3 separate regions of the Homo sapiens genome follow, and regions 1 and 2 are each linked to region 3. The links are contacts of gene promoters, found by promoter capture Hi-C in blood cells and fetal thymus (Javierre and others, 2016). All regions are on one chromosome and are shown on one strand. The core of a region is centred on a gene start or on the middle of the fragment in contact, and the rest is flanking DNA. Distances in the headings are between cores, read along the strand shown.

Evidence for each region. Contacts are between HindIII fragments. The CHiCAGO score rates a contact against its expected background, and 5 or more counts as called.
Region 1: a contact is called between a fragment that was not itself captured here and the fragment with the promoter of PIK3AP1 in region 3, in 9 of 17 cell types (monocytes, total B cells, erythroblasts and 6 more). The highest score is 9.8, in monocytes.
Region 2: a fragment that was not itself captured here is called in contact with the fragment with the promoter of PIK3AP1 in region 3 in 6 of 17 cell types (total B cells, monocytes, naive B cells and 3 more); the score reaches 9.5 in total B cells.

Annotation. Positions count from the first base shown.
Region 1 is chr10:96,659,794-96,663,863 of GRCh38, reverse strand. All of the region lies in intron 2 of PIK3AP1 (phosphoinositide-3-kinase adaptor protein 1), which reads left to right. Among named protein-coding and RNA genes, the nearest start is that of PIK3AP1, 59 kb to the left of the region's middle. The HindIII fragment of the contact is 3,622 bases long and covers 1-3,243 here.
Region 2 is chr10:96,678,273-96,682,141 of GRCh38, reverse strand. The region is part of intron 2 of PIK3AP1 (phosphoinositide-3-kinase adaptor protein 1); the gene reads left to right. Among named protein-coding and RNA genes, the nearest start is that of PIK3AP1, 40 kb to the left of the region's middle. RefSeq lists an enhancer at 3,106-3,365. The HindIII fragment of the contact is 1,133 bases long and covers 2,023-3,155 here.
Region 3 is chr10:96,717,787-96,721,770 of GRCh38, reverse strand. PIK3AP1 (phosphoinositide-3-kinase adaptor protein 1) reads left to right here and starts at 1,257. Exons shown (of 17, transcript NM_152309.3): 1 at 1,257-1,389. The coding sequence starts at 1,377. RefSeq lists enhancers at 666-775, 1,626-1,735 and silencers at 896-1,195, 1,246-1,495. The HindIII fragment of the contact is 16,174 bases long and covers 1-3,984 here.

The sequences.
Region 1 (4,070 bases), core at 183-2,682, 58 kb after region 3:
CATTTGCATTCTCATGATGACTAGTGAGAATGAATGATATTTGTTTGAATGGGGAGGTAATTTGTATTCCTTCTTTTATGAATTGTCTTCTTATTGGTCTTGGGGTATTTTAAAAGAGATTTCGTGACATCTTCGTATATTAAGAAGATTAGCCCCTTATCATTTTTACTTCAAATTTTTAAACTGTTTGTGATTTGCCAATGGGTTTCTTTTTTTTTTTTTTTTTTTTTTTTTTTGACGGAGTCTCACTCTGTTGCCCAGGCTGGAGTACAGTGGTGCGATCTCGACTCACTGCAACTTCTGCCTCCTGGGTTCAAGTGATTCTCCTGCCTCAGCCTCCTGAGAAGCTGGGATTACAGGCGTATACCACCATGCCCGGCTAATTTTTGCATTTTTAGTAGAGACGGAGTTTCACCATGTTGGCCAGGCTGGTCTTGAACTCCTGACCTCAGGTGATCCACCTGCCTCAACCTACCAAAGTGTTGGGATTACAGGTATGAGCCACCGCGCCCAGCCTGCCATTGGTTTCTTTGTTGAGGTATAATTCACATACCATCAATTTATCCATTTAAAGTGTACAATTCAATGTTTTTTTCGTATATTCACAGATTTGTGCAATATTCACCATAATCCATTTTAGAGTATTTTCAATCAATTTTAGAATATTTTCATCACCTCAGAAAGAAATTTCATACCTCTTAGCTATTGTCCCACAATCCTGCCAATCTCCCCAGCCCAAAGCAACCACTAATCTACTTTCTGTCTCTATAGATTTGCCTGTCCTGGACATATATTTGGAATCATATAATTTGTGGTCTTTTATGACTATCTTCTTTCACTTAGCATAATGTTTTCAAGATTCATGCATGCTGTAGCATTTATCAGTACATCATTCATTTTTATTTATCTATTTAATTTACTTATTTATTGAGATGGAGTTTCCCTCTTTTTTTTTTTTTTTTTTTTTTTTTTTTTGAGACGGAGTCTCGCTCTGTCGCCCAGGCGGGACTGCGGACTGCAGTGGCGCAATCTCGGCTCACTGCAAGCTCCGCTTCCCCGGTTCACGCCATTCTCCTGCCTCAGCCTCCCGAGTAGCTGGGACTACAGGCGCCCGCCACCGCGCCCGGCTAATTTTTTTTGTATTTTTAGTAGAGACGGGGTTTCACCTTGTTAGCCAGGATGGTCTCGATCTCCTGACCTCATGATCCACCCGCCTCGGCCTCCCAAAGTGCTGGGATTACAGGCGTGAGCCACCGCGCCCGGCCGGAGTTTCCCTCTTGTTGCCCAGGCTGGAGTGCAGTGGCGCGATCTTGGCTCACTGCAATCTCTGCCTCCTGGGTTCAAGCAATTCTCCTGCCTCAGCCTCTTGAGTAGTTGAGAATACAGGCGCCCACCACCATGCCTGGCTAATTTTTTGTATTTTTAGTAGAGATAGGGTTTCACCATGTTGGCCAGGCTGATCTCGAGCTCCTGACCTCAGGTGATCCACCCGCCTTGGCCTCCCAAAAGTGCAGGGATTACAGGTGTGAGCCACTGCGCCCGGCCTTATTTATCTATTATAATAAGAAAATGTGTCTCTATTTATATAAAACAACATATTGTTTTGAAATTTATTTCTCTTTATTGCTGAGTAATGTTCCATTATATGGACATACCTCATTTTGTTTATCCATTCATCAGTTGATGGACATTTGGGCTGTTTCCACCTTTTGACTATTAGGAATGATGCTGCTACAGCATTTTGATTTTAGTTTTTTGTTTGTTTACTAAAGTTTTAAATTTATATTATCAAGTCTTGCTCATTTAGATTGTGATTTTTGTTTGTTTAACAAATATTTTCCCAAACCACTGATAAAATGTTCACATGTATTTTCTTTTTAATTTTTAAAATTTGTTTATTTATTTTGCATTTTAATCTCTAATCCATCTAAATTTTATTTTGGAGTTATAAGAATTAGGAAGAATCTAAATAGTACCCCTCACTTTCCCCTCTCCTTTCCCTTTCCTTTCCCTTTCCCTTTTCCCTTTCCTTTCCTGTCCTGTCCTGTCCTGTCCTGTCCTGTCCTGTCCTATCCTGTCCTTTCCTTTTCTCAGTGTCTCGCTCTGTCTCCCAGGCTGGAGTGCAGTGGCACAATCTGCAACCTCCACTTCCTGGACTCAAGCGACCCTCCCACCTCAGCCTCCCAAGTAGCTGGGACTGCAGGCACATGCCACCATGCCTGGCTAATATTTTTGAGTAGATTTTATATTTTAGAGCAGTTTTAGGTTCATAGCAAAATTAAGTGGAAAGCATGCAAAGTTCCATGTCTGCTCTGCCCCTATGTACACACAGCCTCCTCCCACCCCCATCAACATCCAGCACCAGAGTGGCACATTTGTTACCACTGATGAATCTACATTGATGCATCATTATCACTCACCCGAAGGCCAGAGTTTATATTAGGATTCACCTACTGTTGTATACTCTATTGGTGTGGACAAATGTCTAATAACATGCACCCACCAGTATAGTATCATACAGAGTAGTTTCATTGCCCTAAAAAGCCTCTGTGCTCTGCCTATTCATTCTTTCTTTCCTCCTAACCACTGGCAATCAGTGATCCATAGTTCTGCCTTTTCCAGAATGTCATATAGTTGGAATCCTACAGTGTGTTTTCAGATTGGCTTTTTTTTTTTTAGATGGAGTTTTGCTCGTTTCCCAGGCTGAAGTGCAGTGGCGCAATCTCAGCTCACTGCAACCTTCACCTCCCAGGTTCAAGTGATTCTCCTGCCTCAGCCTCATGAGAGGCTAATTTTTGTATTAGCCTCTCGGCCTCATGGCTGGCTAATTTTTGTATTTTCAGTAGAAACAGGGTTTCACCATGTTGGCCAGGCTGGTCTCGAACTCCTGACCTCAGGTGATCCAACTACCTTGGCCTCCCAAAGTGCTGGGATTACAGGGGTGAGCCACCATGCCTGACTCAGAGTGACTTCTTTCACTTAGTAATATGCATTCAGGTTTTCTCCATGGCATTTCAGGGCTTGCCTGCTCATTTCTTTTTGGTGCAGAATAGTATTGTATTGTCTGGGTGTACCGCACTTTATCCATTCACCTACTGAAGGACATCTTGGTCACTTCCAAGTTTTGGCTGTTTTGAACAAAGCTGCTATAAACATTTGTGTGCAGGTTTTTGTGTGACTGTAAGTTTTCAATTCTTTTTGGTAAATACTGAGGAGCATGATTGCTGGATTGTTTAGTAAGCTTGTGTTTAGTTTTGTAAGTCTGTCTTCCAAAGTGGCTGTACCATTTTGCATTCCTGCCAGCAAAGGATGCATTCCTACCAGAAAAGGAGAAGAACCTCGGGAAAGGATGCAAGTTCTTGTTGCTCCACTTCCTGACCAGCATTTGGTGTTGTCAGTGTTCTCGCTTCTGCCCATTCTCATAGATTTGTAGTGCTATTTCATGGCTGTTTTAATTTGCGTTTCCCTGATGACATATGATGTGGACCATCTTTTCAAGATATACAGATGGCTTCTTTGCCATCCATGTGTCTTATTTGGTGAAGTGTCTGTTCAGGTCTTTTGCTCTTTTTTAAAATCAGGCTTTTCGTTTTCTGCTTGTTGAGTTTTAAGAGTTCTTTGTATATTTTGGGTACAAGTATTTTATTAGATATGTCTTTTGCAATATTTTCTCCCAGACGATCGCTTATCTCTGCATTCTTTTGACAATGTCTTTCGCAGAACAGATCTGTACTGGTTTTTAATGCTTTTTAAAATCCCATATTAAGTTTTTATGGGAATGAAGCCTTAATTCTGGACCATCTCTTGTATTCAATTGCTCTATCCATTCTGTTTTTTAATAACTTTAATATAAAATAGGACTATCCTTTATTATTTTTTAAAACTTTACTAGAAGACGTAATACCTATATAAATGGAGTTTTCCAGGGTAGGAAATAATTAGTATTATAAAGAAGAACATTGTCCCAAATAAAATGTTAAATTCAATTCAAAGAAGGTTGTGTGGCTTTTACTCTAAATATTATTTTAAAACTGAGGAGTGTTTTTTCATGGTTATTACTTTTTTTCATG
Region 2 (3,869 bases), core at 1,340-3,839, 41 kb after region 3:
TCTATGAACAGGTGTTTGTTTATCGAAATCTTACTCTATAGTGCTAGCTATTTCATTCTCTAGTATTTGTGTGCAGTTGCTCTAATAGTGCATCCCCCCCTTGTTTCTCTCTCTCTCTCTCTCTCTCTATATATATATATATATATACACACACATATATTTATGTATGCATATTTTTTAAAGTCTATAAGAGTGAGAAAGTATACCAATTACTTTTCATTAACACATCTATAAAAACCTGGATCTTTAAGTCCCTGAGCAAAATGTGGTCATCACTGCCCTCGTGGGTAATTGCATACAGGCATAGTCACTCTGTGATACAGGCACTCAGGATAATTTTAAAAGTGTTCCAGATGCAGTTGCTGCTACCCATGTCCTAAGTAAAATTGGGAAGTCACCAAATTTGCCTTCTGATAACCTTCCAGCTCTTCTTCCCTTACCCTTCTCCATTATGACTCATCTTCTGCACAGCAGCCTCCGGTTCGGTGCCTTCATGTCCAGAGTCACCTACTTTGACTGTGGAAACATCCTACTAGAGCCCCCTTTTGGGCCCAAGTTTCCAGAATGATCTTTCTCTTCAACACTCTCCCAAACCTAGCTGAAATCTGCTCTCCAAAGAGACTGATCTCAGCATAATATGAGAGAATAATTGGATTAATGGTCGTCCTTGAGGGAGTGTCTAGAGGAGAGCCAGCAGCCCTGGTTTAGGTTTCGTGGCCAGTTATTCTCTGACTTTGAGGCATACACAGAAGTCAGACATCACATTTGTTATGGGATGAATTGTGTCTACCTTATATTCATATTTGGAAGTCCTAACCTTTCGTACCTCAGAACCCGACTGGATTTGGAGATAGAGTTTTTAAAAAGGTAATTAAGGTAAAATGAGGTCATATAGATGGGCCCTTATCCAATATGACTGGTGTCTTTAGAAGGAGAGGGGATTAGGACACAGATGTGTGCACACACGGAAGAGAAATTATGGAGGACAGAGTGAGAAGCCAGCCATCTGCAACCAAGCAGGGAGGCCCGAGAAAAAAACAACCCTGCTGACACCTTGATCTTGGACTTGTGGCCTCTAGAATTGTGGGAAAGTAAATTTCTATTGTTTAAGCCACACAGTCTATGGTGTTTTGTTATGGCAGCCCTAGCAAATGAATACAGATTTATTGATGGATAACACTCGTAGGTGACTGGGTAGATTTTACACTGAGTGACTGAAGCATTATTCAACATTGTCTTGATCTAGTTCAATATGATAATCCTGAGTTCTGCTTTTAGGTCCATAAATGCAATTGAACTAGTGCAGCACAGCAGAAATCCAACATGGCATCAACATGTGAAAGTGAATTGCAGGATTTATAGTTGACTACCTGTTAAAAAGCAATCAATAGTATGAATACCAAAGACGTAGACTCAACCTAAATGCCCACTAATGGTAGACTGGATAAAGAAAATGTGGTACATATACACTGTGGAATATTATGCAGCCATAAAAAAGAATGAGATCATGTCCTTTGCAGGAACATGGATGGAGCTGGTGGCCATTATCCTTAGCAAACTAACAGAGGAACAGAAAACCAAATACTACATGTTTTCACTTACAACTGAGAACTAAATGATGAGAACACATGGATACATAGAGGGGAGAAACAGACACCAGGGCATTCCTGAGGGTGGAGGGTGGGAGGAGGGAGAGGATCAGAAAAAATAACTATTGGATACTAGGCTTAGTACCTGGATGACAAAATAATCTGTACAACAAACCCTCATGACATCCATTTACTTATATAACAAACCTGCACATGTACCCCTGAACTTAAAAGTTAAAAAAAAAAAATCAATAGTATGATGTGGCCGCTAAAAGCTACCACAGTATTAAGCTACCTTAATAAGAGAATGGCTCCTTTGTCCTAGAATAATTTCAGTATGTTCTACCAAGAATGGTGTTCCATTCTGGGTGCCACCTTTTTAGAAGGAAACTGGCTGACTAGAATATGTCCAGAGAAGAACAACCAAGAAGCTTGGAACCATTTATGCACCATTTTTTGGAAAGGGCTGAGGCTGTGTTCTGAGTTGCAAGGTAAGGGAGATCTCTATTTGAGGTGGAGGTTGCTGAGAGGAAGGAAGGGTGGACATGATAGTGGGAGTCCCATCACTCTTTCCACCCTGGGTGATTACAAGGTTGGGGATTGCATGGCACTCCCCTGGGGACAGTGACTGGTCATGTGAACTAAGTTGGAGCAGTCAGAATGAAGGGAAGAGTTTCTGTTCCATGCTCGTGGGAATATTTTTCTCTTTTCCTCTGGACCTTGTTGTGAAGTGAACCTGTGGCTACCACAGCCGTCTTGCCACCAGCTTGAGAATTTGTGCTGAAGATGGTAGAATAGAGAAATGGGAAGAACCTGGGACCTTGGTGCTGTGGCTGAACACTTACCAACCCCAAACCTGCCTGAATGCTGGGCTTTGGATTCCAGGAGATAAATGTCCTTAATGTTTAAGGCATTTTGAGTTGGGATTTCTCTTGCTTGCAGCAGAACTATCTTAACAGATTCTGCAAGGTTGGACTAAAGATAAGGATGAGCTTTCACAGATATTAATAATTTTTTTTTTTTTTGAGACGGAGTCTTGCTCTGTCGCCCAGGCTGGAGTGCAGCAGCGAGATCTCGGCTTACTGCAACTTCCGCCTCCCAGGTCCAAGAGATTCTCCTGCCTCAGCCTCCTGAGTAGCTGGGACTATAAGCACCCACCACCACACCTGGCTAATTTTTGTATTTTTAGTAGAGGCGGGGTTTCACCATGTTGGCCAGGCTGGTCTCAAACTCTTGACCTCAAAAGATCCAGCCACCTTGGCCTCCCAAAGTGCTGGGATTTTAGACAGGAGCCACTGCACCCAGCCCAGATATTAATAATTCAAAATGCACATCAGTGGAGTAGACTCAAGAAGGGAGCTCTTGTCTCTGTAATATTCAAGTAGAGGTTGACCATGATAAAAAAAAATCCTTGAGTGTAATTTGCACTAAATGATTCTTCAGGTTCTTTCAAATTCTGATCATCTAAGATTCAAAAATAATTCTTACTAAAGTGTGACTGTCTGTGAAGCTGAACCTTCCCCAGAGCATTTGCATCATCCTCAGTGTGATAACTCAGATGAAGCTTTTATTAGTTGAATGTGGAGGTGGGGGAGGTTTTTGTGTATGAGAACCTTCCAGGTGCTCCTTGCCTACTTGGTATTAGTGGGTCGCTCTCCTCTTCCCCTACAGGGGTCTGTGTCTCTACTTTTGGAAGGTTGTTGAACCTGAACAAAGAGGAAATAAACTATATTGTGACTGCAGGGTTGGCAAAACACTACATACAAAGGACTACAATATCATGAAAAGGAAAAGTGAAAAGGAGGAAGGTGTTGAGGCAGTGGGCACAGAGGCTCAGAGGAGTGGTGGAGAGGTGGGTCATAGGTTGCAAGATCCCAAGGAAGGAATTTTCTACCTGTTTTAACCCATGCTCCCTTTTGACTCACACCCTCCTTCTATAGTGCATTTATTAAAATAATAGTTTAAAATTTTAATTATAGTATAGGCCAGGTACAGTGGTTCAAGCCTATAATCCCAGCACATTGGGAGATCAAGGTGGGAGGATCCATGGAGCCCAGGAGTTCGAGACCAACCTGGGAAACATGGATAAACCCTGCCTTTACAAAAAAAATTTTTTTTGAGACAGGATCTCACTCTGTCACCCAGGCTGGAGTGCAGTGGTGTGATCTCGACTCATTGCAACCTCCGCCTCCTGGGTTCAAGCGATTCTCTTGCCTCAGCCTCCCTAGTAGCTGGAACTACAGGTGTGTGCCACCACGCCTAGCTAATTTTTTGTATTTT
Region 3 (3,984 bases), core at 8-2,507:
ACAAGGAGGCCATGAGCCAAGGAATGTGGATGGCTTCTAGAAGCTGAAAGAGCCAAGGAAATTGATTCCCTTCTATTTGGCAGAAAGAAACCCAGCCCAGCCACCACCTTGATTTTAGCCGATGGAGACTCATGTCACACTTCTGAGCTACAGAACTGTAAAATGATAAGTTGGTGTTGTTTTAAGCCACTAAATTTGTAGTAATTTATTATGGCAACAGAAGAAAATGAATGCACGGCCTCATCCTGATATTCCCGTTCTTAAATCCATTTCATTTTATTTCCACCTGGACTTCAGCCCTAACCTTGCCTCATCTCTGCTCTCTGGGTCCATCTTCTGGCCCCTGGATTGTTGAGAACTCCAAGGGGATGTGCTATTCAGTTGAATTTCGGCAGCAGGCAAAGGGAGGAGTCCAAGAAGAGGGCAGGTGAAGGCAAGGGTTAAGCAAGAGTTCTAGCTCTGGAAGCAGACTGGCTTGGTACTGAACCTCCGGGAGCTTTTGTTCTCTGTGGAAGCCTGAGCAAGGTATTTGGCTTGTTTCTTTGGCTCCAATGTAAAGACAGTGATAGGTGCTACCTCAGAAGGTTGCTGTGAGGATGCAATGCGATAATGTGTGTAAGGTGCTAAACGCAGCGCCCAGCAGACAGGAACACAGGAAATGAATGGCAGAGAAACTCTATTAGACATTTATCATGTGACATTATAATTAATGTTCATGTGCCATCAGGAGACCAGATCCAAGGAACGGCAGAAAGATCACAGGAGGGCACTCAAGGGCAACGCCGAGCACCCAGGGCCAGGTGCCCAGCCCTCCTCCTCTTCCCCTTCCTGTCCCCTCCCCTTTCCTGCTGGGGCAGCAGGGGCTTAGGGACAAAGCCCCAGGCGATGAGGAGGTGGCTTGGACAGCTGGTGCTCACACACACACACACCCCCGCCCTGTCTCCCAGAGGCCTGGCAGCCCCACACTCTCCCCCTCCGCCTCCTCCCCACACCCCCTCCACCTCGGGCTGCCCTTTGGTGGCAGATCAGGGCTGGTTTCCCGAGGAGTGGGGCGCACGTGGCGCGAAGCCCCCGCCTTCTCGCTGCCCCTGAGCAGGGGGCCGTGGGGGGAGCTGGCCGGCGGCCGGCATGGGGTTCTCACTTCCCCTCCCCAACGGCCGCGGGTGCAGGTGCCGCGGGCCGAGTCCCGCAGGCGGGGCGGACTCTGTGGACACGCCCTCGTGGCGAGGCCGGGCTGCCCTGAGGGAGGAAGCGCCAGAGCGGCGGCCGGTCCCGCGCGGAGCCCGGCGCCCCTCCAGCCCGAGCCAGGACGCCGCCGGCCCCGGTCCCGGCCCCGGGCACGCAGCGAGCCAGGGATGTGAGCGGCGCCCCGCGGCATGGCAGCCTCAGGTGGGTAGGCAGGCGCCGCGGGTCCCCGGGCTCCCGGCCCCTCTCTCGTACCCCGCATCCCTTGAGGCGCGCTCCCCCGCTTGCTTCTGTTTGCGTCCTCTGTGCGGGGATCTTGCCCTCTTTCTGCTCTTTTCTATGTTCCCTGTCGCAAACTTCCCACTCCAACTTTCCCACGTTTCCCGTCCCAGCCTGTGGCGCGATTCTCTTCAGCCCCTGCCTGGCCCGACCCCCTCCCACTTCTTCAGGGTCTCCTTCGCTCCCTCCACCTCTGGCCCTAGGAGTGTCTGAGCGTCGCTTCCCCTGTCCCTCCGACTCTGAAGCGAGAGGCGAGTTGAGAGAAGCGGAGGGCGGGCGATGTGGATGGTCTACAGGGCCAAACGCGTCTCCTGGGCTCCGTGGACCCACAGGGGGCGCTCAGGCAGTCCTAGGTGGTGCGGAGAGATCAGCCGGGGAGGCCCTTGGGACAGTTCCCCAAGCCCCGTTCCTCCACCCCTCCCAGGCTTTGTGTTTTGGGTCTAGAACTTTGCTAGGGATCTAGGAACACTATTCCTTGAACTTTACTTTTCCTGCGTCCTTTGCAGAACTTTGGGGAATGGGGAGAGTTGGCGGTCACTGGGTAAATGTACTCATCAAAGGGTGCCAAGCGTCTTTTCTGGCTGGTCTTGGGTTGCCTTCTGGTTCATGGGTGTACACACTTGGCAAGTCGCTCACTGACGGAGATCCAGGACAAGCCACATAATGATGATAACGGAGACAATTAATGAGTCCTTACTATTGCACTCCAATGGATACTGTGCACCTAATATGTTCTCCATGGTGGGCAGGAAACACCTAGTCTCTGCTCTCCAGGAGTTTATGGTCCTGTAGAGGAAAGCAATAAGTAAACAAGGAATTACTAGATGAGAGGAGGTAGAGTTACAGTGTTTACAAATGGGTTTACTTGTATTTTCCCAGCCCACTTTATGATGTTTTAGTAGGGATAACCTGTGAAAACAGGTTGCAGGTGCCCCTTGAAAAAGAAAATCTAGGTGGCCAGGAGAAGGCACTGTTCTTACAGGAGGTGAGCAAACACTGGAATGAAGAGCCAGCTCTCCCCAGATCCTCTGAGGGTCTGGTAAGGGTGCTTCGGAAGCAGAGGTAGAAAAGGCCAGGAGTGATTGTTCCATGTACTACAGGCTCATTAAAGGGGATGGGAAGGTAGTTAATCACAGCCTCCTGGCTCTCCAGCTGGGCTCTGGAGGCTAAAAGAAGCTGTGTTGTGAATAAGGAGGCCTAGTAATAGCAGGTAATATACACTTAATAAGGAAAATCTCTGGTATGACATGTGTTATGGGAAAACGATAAAGAAGGGTGAGGGAGACTGGGGTTAGGATTTTCAAATGAGGTGGCCAGGGTGGAGAAAGGCACATTTGAGCCAAGATTTCCAGGGGGAGGAGGCTCTTTGGGGAAGAGTGCTCCAAGCAATGAGTGTATGTGGTGCGTTAAAGGAAAGGGAGTAGGCCAGAGTGGCTGGAGTAGGTGGGCTGTGGGGGAGAGGGAGATGAGGCCAGATAATAAACCAGTGAAGCCGCCTCCTCCTTCCATGGTCAGGAACAGGCCCTGGGCTGCTGAGTCCAGGAAACCGCAAACTGGGAGGGCCTTTGGGTGGAAGAGTCTGAGAAAATGGCCTCTCTTTTCCTCTTTTCCAGCGTCCTGTGTACCTCTCTCCAGTGGACACAGCCGAAGGAGCTAGGAAGGCGAGCTCCAGTTCAGAGGGGGACCCTAGTCCGGTGGGCAAACCTGGGGCTATTTATGGGCTCTGTAGCAGCTTCTGCAGGTGTTTGTAATGGTTAGAGCTGTCAAACTGTCTTGCTGTCTGCGTCTTCTGTGGCGAGACACCACTCCAGGTGCTGTAATTGAGAGTTGGGTCTCTGGAGTCCCTCGGGTTCCCTGAGGTTTGGAAGTACAAGGACCCATGGGGGAAGATCACAGTGGTGAGAGCAATGCCGCTCGCCAAGGTGCTGTGGGCTTTGGAGTCATCCAGCCACCCTTCTGTATGTTCTTCTTTTCTTTTAAAAGCAGCTTTATTGTGATATAATTCACATGCCATACAATTCATCCATTTAAAGCATACAATTCAGTGGTTTTTAGTATCTTTACAGATATGTGTAGCCATCACCACAGTCAATTTTGGGACATTTTCATCACCTCAGAAAGAAACCTTGTATGCTTTAGGTATCAACCTTTTATTCTCCTCTCCTCTCCCAGCCCTAAGATCTACTTTGCCTCTATAGATTTCTCTACTCTGGGCTTGTATATGAATGGAATCACATAGTATGTGGTCTTTGGTGACTGGCTTCCTTTGTACAGCATAATATTTTCAAAGTTCATCCCACTGTAGCTTATATCAGTACTTCGTTCCTTTTTATGGCCTAATTCTTAAATTCCCTTCCACTGAAGGGGAAGCATTAGTCTATATTGTTTTCTGAAAGATGTCTGCTTGTTGAAATCCAGGAGAAGTTAGGCTCCCTGTCTTTGAAAGGACCTTGGGTAGGAAGATAAAATGAAATGGACTTGGCCTATTCCACAAAATTCTCTAGGCCCCTGATGGCATCT